2 separate regions of the Homo sapiens genome follow, and region 2 is linked to region 1. The links are contacts of gene promoters, found by promoter capture Hi-C in blood cells and fetal thymus (Javierre and others, 2016). All regions are on one chromosome and are shown on one strand. The core of a region is centred on a gene start or on the middle of the fragment in contact, and the rest is flanking DNA. Distances in the headings are between cores, read along the strand shown. Region 1 holds the start of UNC13A (unc-13 homolog A). Region 2 overlaps FCHO1 (FCH and mu domain containing endocytic adaptor 1).

Region 1 (4,316 bases), core at 1,195-3,694:
AAAGGAAGAAAATGAAAAACAAAATTTGTGATAGTTCTTCCATCTGCAGGGAAGGATTATGAGATTGGGGAGAGGCACATGGGGGTCTTTTATTGTGATGGTATTTTTTTTTTTTTTTGAGACGGAGTCTCTCTCTGTCACCCAGGCTGGAGTACAGTGGCCCGATCTCGGCTCACTGCAAGCTCCGCCTCCCGGATTCACGCCTTTCTCCTGCCTCAGCCTCCTGAGTAGCTGGGAATACAGGCGCCCGCCACCACGCCCGGCTAATTTTTTGTATTTTTAGTAGAGACGGGTTTTACCGTGTTAGCCAGGATGGTCTCGATCTCCTGACCTTGTGATCACCCCGCCTCAGCCTCCCAAAGTGCTGGTATTATAGGCGTGAGCCACCGAGCCCGGTCGATGGTAATTTTTTTTATCCAAGCCTGCTCCTCATAGTTTATCTACTCATTGATGTTTAATAAAACATCAATGTTTTATTGATTATCAATGTTTAATAAAACATCTACTCATTGATGTTTAATAAAAATTTAAGACCAGGCATGGTGGCTCATGAGCCTGTAATCCCAACATTTTGGGAGGCTGAGACGGGAGGATCACTTGAGCCCAGGAGTTTGAGACAGCCTGTGCGACATGGTGAAACTCTGTCTCTACAAAAAATACAAAAATTAGCTGTGCTGATTTTTTTAAAAATTTAAAGCAGTGACAGATACAAACATGGTTACTATTAGGCATTAAGATTACAACTGGGGCCAGGCGCGGTGGCTCATTCGTGTAATCCCAGCATTTTGGGAGGCCACGGTGGGTGGATCACTTGAGGTCAGGAGTTTGAGACCAGCCTGGCCAACATGGTGAAACCCCATCTCTACAAAAAATACAAAAAAATTAGCTGGATGTGGTGGCGAGCGCCTGTAATCCCAGCTACTCAGGAGGCTGAGGCAGGAAGATCACTTGGAGGTTGAGGTTGCAGTGAACTGAGATGGTGCCACTGCACTCCAGCCTGGGCCACAGATTGAGACTACACCTCCAAAAAAAAAAAAATTACAACTGGTTTCACATGTTAACTCATGTAATACCTCCAGCAACCTTGTGAGGCAGGACTTGTTATCATATTCATTCTACAGGTGCGGAAACTGAGGCACGAGGAGGTCACAAGACCTGCCCAAGGCCATGCTTGTGATGAGAGACAGAGTTTGGTTTTGAACAATGGCCTCACTCAACTCCATGCACATTCTGCATTTATGAAGCTCTTTCATGTGGGCTGGGGGCAGGAGACCCTGTGGGGCTCAGCCTTTCATGCTAGTTTAGGTGCCAGTGATACAGCGAGCAGGTTGCAGGGCAAGGGGCCCACATGGAGCTGCCCAGTTTGATATGTGGGGAGGGGGCCAGGCGCAGTGGCTCAGGTCTGAATCCCAGCACTTTGGGAGGCCGAGATGGGCGGATCCCCTGAGGTCAAGTGTTCAAGACCAGGCTGGCCAACATGGTGAAACCTCGTCTCTACTAAAAATAAAAAAAATAAAATAAAAAAAAAAAGCTGGGCATGGTGGCATGCGCCTGTAGTCCCAGCTACTCGGGGAGGCTGAGGCAGGAGAATCTCTTGATCCCAGGAGGCAGAGGTTGCAGTGAGCCAAGATTGCGTCACTGCATTCCAGCCTGGGCTGCAGAGGGAGACTCCATCTAAAAAAAAGAAAAGTGGGGAGGAGTGGCAGAGTTTCGTTCGGGTCAGGGCCCAATCAGAGGAAGGGATAGGGGCTGGGGGAGTCCAGAGAGGAGAAACAAAGGCTCAGCTTGGGGCAGTCAGGGAAGCCTTCCTGGAGGAGAGGATATTCAGACAAGACATTGATGGATGAAAAGGAGTTCAGAGTGTGGGCAAGGACCCATGGGCTGGATGGCTTAGAGACATAGAGAGAGACCTAGACAGGATGCAGTAGAGCTGCAAAAAGACTTTACAGAGAGAGGCTAAGAGACACATGACTGAGAGAGCAGTGGACAGAGTCAGAGGAACAGAGACCCAGGGAGAGAAAGAGACCAGGCAGTAGAGTTAGAGAGACAGAGACGTAGAGACAGAGGAAGAGAGATACTCAGAGAACAGGACCATCTGCCCGGTGCTGGTGCCGGGCGTACACACAAGAGCTTGCATTTGCCTGTACTTGCTTGAGTATTGCAGGGAGGCGTTTGCCCAGGTTACCAGGGCAGGAATGTCCATGCATGGGTGGCGGGGGCACGTGCACCATTTCAGTGCAGGTGAGGGTCTGCACAGGAGGAAACCTGCTTGGGGGCCGCCGTCGCCCCTTGTCCCCCTGCAACGAGGAGGTGTGGGGCGAGGCGCCCCTTCCCGGAGCCAGGCCCTTTAACGCCCCCCCAGCCCGCAGCGCCCCCGCCCCATCAGGCGTCCCTGGGCTCCGCCTGCCCGCCCCGCATCAGCGCCACGTCAGGCGCTGTCCGCGCCCCCGGTGCTGAACCAAGATGGCCGGTGGCGGCCGGGCCCCGGCGTGAGCCAAGCGCGGGCTGCAGCCGGGAGATGCCCCAGCCCAGCGGCCGCTGAGCCCGACCCGACAGAGCCGGCCCGGCCGCCTCCGGCCCACCTGCGAGCTCGGAGACATGTCTCTGCTTTGCGTTGGAGGTAGGAGGCGAGGCTGGGGGTCGGGGGACCCGTGTGGACGCGGGCTGGGGTCGGGGTCCGCGTGGATGCGGCTCCCAGGGGGTTCCTGGGGGGTGACCCGAGTCCAGGTGGCTGGACTTTTGAGAGGGGTAGCCCTTGTCGACGCAGCTGGGCCCCGGAGGGGGTGATCCGTGTAGACGCGGCAGGGCTCTCGGGGGTCCTGGTGGCCGCTGCTGGAGGGGTCGTGTGGACGCGGCTGAACGCGGAGGCCCGTGTGGACGTGGACGGGTATCCGGGGTTCTACCCGGAAACGATCTAGACTGGGGCGTCTGTGTAGACCAGGTTTTTAGAGGGTCAGTGAGGAAGAGTCTGGGCTCGGTAGTTTGATTGAAGCCTGCAGGGGTGCTTGGAAGGGGTCTGGTGTTGTGGGCTGGGTTACGGGTCCTCATGGACGCGGACCCGGCTGGAAATTCGAAGGAGAGTGCGGTGGGAGGGTTCTCCAAGCCGTGGGGATGTAAGATATAGGTAGAGGGGCTTGGCCATCAGGGCATCCACGAGTTCTAGGACTCTCCCAGCCCTAGGTGTAAAGAGGACTGGAGTGGGGGGAGTGTGGAGACAGGAGACCCCTCCCAGCGTCCAGAGAGGGCTGTGACTGGAGGTCTGGGGGCGCTTTTCCAGTTAACTCTTTGGCCTCCCGAGTGAGGGGGTTGGAGGAATGTCCAGAAGGTCTTCCCGCTCCCTGCCCCCTCCGGTTCTCCCAAACACGTTTCAGGGCCTTCTCGGCAGGGAGCCTACTTCTTGGAAGAGCAATGTCTCCTGGTCCCCCTCCTGGCCCATCCTCACCTCACCCACTTTGCACTGGAGAGAGGGAGGGAGGGAGACGTGAGGTGGGGGGGGAGCTATTTTGGGGCCAGAACGCCATCTGCACAGAGGCCCACGCCCAGGCCCACGCTCTGCGTTGGGGTTGGAGGAGGGAGGGAGACGTGGGAGGGGCATGACCCCCCACCCCACACCTTTATGGCTCTGGGGTCGTGGGGAAGCCAGCCCAACCGAACCCAGGCGTTCTGGGCACTCCCGTTTGAGAAATCAAACTCTGGGAGACCTTGGGCGGCAGGGGTGGATGTGGACCGCCGTTCCACGCCTACAGAGCTCTGAACCCCTGGTTCTTAAGGACTGGGGTCCCCCCGTCACTCCCACCCATTTCAAGAAGGCTGGGGTGGGGGAAGGGGTGTGTCTGCCAAGCCTGAGACTGCAGGCTTCGGGAGACCTCGGGCGACAGGAAGCGTGCGTGTGCTGAACTCCTGCTGCCTGGACACAGGGTGGGCAGGCCGGGGAGCCGGGAACCGCCCCCGCCGCCCCTCCTCCTCCCTCCCCTCCCCCTCGGCCGATTCATTCACAAACCCTGCCCCGCCCGCCCGCTCCCCGCCGCGGCAGCTTCCGAGTGCAAATCCGGCCGGGCTGGGCCGGCGTGGACGCGGGTGTTCTTAAAGGGACAGGGGCCTACTTTCTCTAAGCTCGTTTCTGCTGGACGGGGCTGGGGGTGGTGGAAGAAGGGTCCCTAGAGTCAAAGGTCAACTCCTCCATCCCCTAGCCTCCAGGCCTATGGAGTTAGGGGAGTAGGGAAGTGAAGGAGACCCCTAGGCGACCCCCACCGCCTAGGCCTGAGGACGGAATGGGAGGAGAACTTGAATGTCCAGACCCCCTACTGACCTCTCCC
Region 2 (4,188 bases), core at 425-2,924, 84 kb before region 1:
TGTGCAGTGGGCTGGGCTTTGAGTGACAGGATAAGGAGTGGGAACTCTCTCCCAAGAACAATGGGGAGCCATGGAAGGTGTGTGAGCAGGAGGAGGACAAAACAGATCTGGGGCCTGTGAAGGGCAAGAGTGGGGCCCCATGCAGGGAGGGGAGACCTGAGCCAGGCCTGAGCCAGAGCGACAGGAGGGAGAAAGAACAGGTTTTGCTAGTTAACAAGACTTGAGGACGTAACTGTATACCAGCATTTAGTGAGTGCCTACTGTGTGCCTGGCACACCCTTTGCCCTTTACCTGCATGAAATCACTGAATGTTGCAACATTATTACATCCTCACTTTACAGATGAGGAAACTGAGGCTCAGAGAAGTCAAAGCACAGGTCCTAGGTCACACAGCAAGCGATGAAGAAAAGACTCAAACCCACGTCTCACTCTAAAACTTTTGCTCTTAACTCCTTCCCAGTCCTGCATCTGCGCATTCCCAAATTGTTCTTTTGCTCAACAACCCTCAATGGCTCCCTTAGGCCCTGGGGGTGAAGTCTGATCAGCCAAGCCTGGCATTCAAGGCTCCTCTGGGATCTGGTTCAAAGACATTTACACATAAGATCAGGCTGGAGAGCTGGACTTGTCAGCAGCCCATTTTTCCCATGAAGAAACCAAGGCCTGGCCATGTGCAGTGGCTCACGCCTGTAATCCCAGCACTTTGGGAGGCCGAGGCAGGCAGATCACCTGAGGTCAAGAGTTCGAGACCAGCCTGGCCAACATGGTGAAACCTCGTCTCTATTAAAAATAAAAAAATAAAAAAAAAATTAGCTGGGCATGGTGGCACATGCCTGTCTGCAGCTGTGGCCCCGAAGCCCGACCCCCAATGGCTGCCCTGACTCACCAGGCTTCTCCCGGCCTGTGCCCTTACTCTCTGCAAACTTCCTGAGTAGCATCTCCACGCTGACGTTCTCGATGTTCTGCTTAAATTCCTCATGCACCTGTGCCGGGTGGGCGGGGTGTGTAACTGGTCAAGGCCCCTTTGCCCAGCAGTGACCCCAGCCTCATTCCTCACACCTGCCCAACTCACCTGCCCAATCTGCACGTGCGTGTCCTCCACCGAGTGAGCATATGAGCCCAGCAGTGCCTTCATGTGCCTCAGGTGTGTCTCCTCCATGGCTTGGAAGCGCTGAAGCAGGAGGGCAGAGGCAGGTGGAAAGGAGGTCAGGGCCAAGAAGAAGTGGCCATATGACTCAGCCTGACCAATCAGAATACCCTAAGCCCTTGGCTCAGTGATTGATTTGGGGAAGGGCCAATGAGAGTCTGCCCTAGGACTTTCATTGACTCTACAGGAAAAGGCACTTCCATTCCTGAGCCAATGTGCTGATGGGATGTAAGTGGGGGTTGCTGGTGCCCAGTTTGATGCACACATGTGCATGCTTGCACACACATGCACACACACACACACACAAGGGGATGTCTGTGTGGGAGTGATGTCCCCAGAGAGAAAAACAGACTTAAGAAGCAGAAATAGTGGTCAGCTGTGGTGTATCATGCCTGTAATCCCAGCACTTTGGGAGGCCAAGGCAGGTGGATCATCTGAGGTCAGGAATTCAAGACCAGTCTGGGCAACATGGTGAAACCGTTTCTACTAAAAATACAAAAATTAGCTGGGTGTGGTGGCACGTGCCTGTAATCCCAACTACTAGGGAGGCTGAGGCAGGAGAATCACTTGAGCCCAGGAGGCGGAGGTTGCAGTGAGCTGAGATCACGCCACTGCACTCCAGCCTGAGTGACAGAGAGATCCCATCTCAAAAAAATAAAAGAAGCAGAAATTCACAATTTCCTGCCAGCACTATTTGAGCACATGGATTCAGCTATGACTGAAACCTCCACAACTCAAAAATAAAACTTTACAGTTCCCTGAGCTTGTCAGTTTTTTTAAATTTTATTTTTTATTTTATTTTTTATTTTTTTGAGACAGAGTCTCGCTCTGTCGCCCAGGCTGGAGTGCAGTGGCGCAATCTCGGCTCACTGCAAGCTCCGCCTCCTGGGTTCTCGCCATTCTCCGGCCTCAGCCTCCTGAGCAGCTGGGACTACAGGCACCCACCACCACGCCCGGCTAATTTTTTTGTATTTTTAGTAGAGAGGGGGTTTCACCGTGTTAGCCAGGATAGTCTCGATCTCCTGACCTCGTGATCCACCTGCCTCGGCCTCCCAAAGTGCTGGGATTACAGGCATGAGCCACCGCGCCCAGCCTTTTTCTTTTCTTTTCTTTTTTTTTTTTATATACACCTGTCGGTTTGAATGAAGGCTTCTATCACTTGTAACTTGAAAAAAGTTCTGATTCCTAATCCTCAGATTCCAATCTGCTTGAATTTATTTTATTTTTTCGAGACAGGGTTCCACTCTATCACCTAACCTGGAGTACAATGGCTCGATCTTGGCTCACTGCAACCTCCGCCTTCTGGTTCAAGTGATTCTCCCGCCTCAGCCTCCTGAGTAGCTGGGATTACAGGCACCTGCCACTACGCCCGGCTAATTTTGTATTTTTAGTAGAGACAGGCTTTCGCCATGTTGGCCAGGCTGGTCTCAAACTCCTGACCTCAGGTGATCCTCCCGCCTCGGCCTCCCAAAGTGCTGGGATTACAGGTGTGAGCCACCACACCCTGCCTGGGATTTCTGCAGTCCATAACCTCCAGGGCAAAGGCATGTGTGGGTCTTAAAGGTACAGATGCCTGGTTCTTACCAGGGCTGAGTCCAGCATCTTCTGCTCAAAGTCAGCTCGGGCTGAGTTGTATTTTTCCACTGAGCGCCGCAGGCTCTCTGCCGCCTTCTTGGTTTTAGTCTCCGCCTACAAAGCACAGGGAGGAAACGGGGATGGGAGGGCGATACTCAGGGGGCCTCCCCCAGGCCCCATCACCTGGCAGGTGAACTCCTCGGGGTACCCAGGGTGTGATCACCCACAGGTTCCAGGACCGTCGCTCTGGGATGTGTTTCCACTCTCTGATCAGGCAGCCCCTCCGCCCCGCGGCAAATTCCTCAGAACCCCCCCACTGTGAGCCCACCTTGTCCATCTCCTTCTGGCTGGTACTCTCCCTCCGCAGCCGCTCCTGGTCCATGCAACGGTTCAGGTAGTTCTCGCGGGACTTGGGCAGGAGCTGGCTGACGCCCGAGAGTACCTGCACAGCATCCAAGGTGCTCACCACTTCCTCCTTGCACTGCGGGGTAGGAGGGGATTTCATGGGTAGACTGTGAAATTCCTGACCTCCCAAACACTCCACGTGATGTCAGCTCCACAGTCTTTTTCTATGTGTGTGTGTGTGTTTTGGTTTGGTTTTTTTTAGACAGAGTTTCGCTCTTGTTGTCCAGGCTGGAGTGCAGTGGCACGATCTCGACTCACTGCAATCTCTGCCTCCCGGTTTCAAGCAATTCTCCTGCCTCAGCCTCCCAAGTAGCTGAGATTACAGGTGCTCACCATCACACCCAGATAATTTTTTGTATTTTTAGTGGAGACGGGGTTTCACCATGTTGGCCAGGCTGGTCTCTAACTCCTGACCTCAGGTGATCTGCCCACCTTGGCCTCCCAAAGTGCTGGCATTACAGGTGTGAGCCACCACGCCCGGCCTCTGTGTGTGTGTTTTAATAGCAATGGGGTCTTGCTATGTTGCCCAGGCTGGTCTCAAACTCCTACACTCAAGCAATCCACCTGCCTCAGCCTCCCAAAGTGTTGGGATTACAGGTGTGAGCCACTACGCCCGGCCTGTACGTTTTTCATTTCAAAACATTTTTAACTTTAAAAAAAAGTACTATTTACACATGGTTCATATTTCAGAAAGTTGTAAGAGGTAAGCCAGGAAAAAGCCTCCCATATATGGGCCCTCCAGCCTAGAAGTCCCCAATTATTACTGTGATACTTCTCTAGAAATAATCCGCATATGGATAAAGATGCTTGTTCTAACCCAAGTTTTATGACAAACAGTGGCAGACTGTGTTGCTTAACTCACCGTTTTGTGTGTGTGTGTGTGTGTGTGTGTGTGTGTGTGTGTGTGTGTGTGTGTGTGTTTGAGACGAAGTCTCGCTGTGTCACCCAGGCTGGAGTGCAGTGGCGCGATCTTGGCTCACTGCAAGCTCCGCCTCCCGGGTTCACGCCATTCTCCTGCCTCAGCCTCCTGAGTAGCTGAGACTACAGGCGCCGCCACCACGCCC

The links. Contacts are between HindIII fragments. The CHiCAGO score rates a contact against its expected background, and 5 or more counts as called.
Region 2: a contact is called between a fragment that was not itself captured here and the fragment with the promoter of UNC13A in region 1, in 4 of 17 cell types (M2 macrophages, M0 macrophages, M1 macrophages and 1 more). The highest score is 8.5, in M2 macrophages.

What each region holds. Positions count from the first base shown.
Region 1 is chr19:17,686,482-17,690,797 of GRCh38, reverse strand. It overlaps UNC13A (unc-13 homolog A), which reads left to right and starts at 2,444. Exons shown (of 44, transcript NM_001080421.3): 1 at 2,444-2,620. The coding sequence starts at 2,599. RefSeq lists a silencer at 2,926-3,108 and enhancers at 2,342-3,302, 3,303-4,264. The HindIII fragment of the contact is 13,980 bases long and covers 1-4,316 here.
Region 2 is chr19:17,769,437-17,773,624 of GRCh38, reverse strand. It overlaps FCHO1 (FCH and mu domain containing endocytic adaptor 1), which reads right to left. Exons shown (of 29, transcript NM_015122.3): 8 at 3,048-3,200; 9 at 2,729-2,833; 10 at 1,070-1,168; 11 at 884-980. Among named protein-coding and RNA genes, the nearest start is that of FCHO1, 20 kb to the right of the region's middle. The HindIII fragment of the contact is 7,982 bases long and covers 1-4,188 here.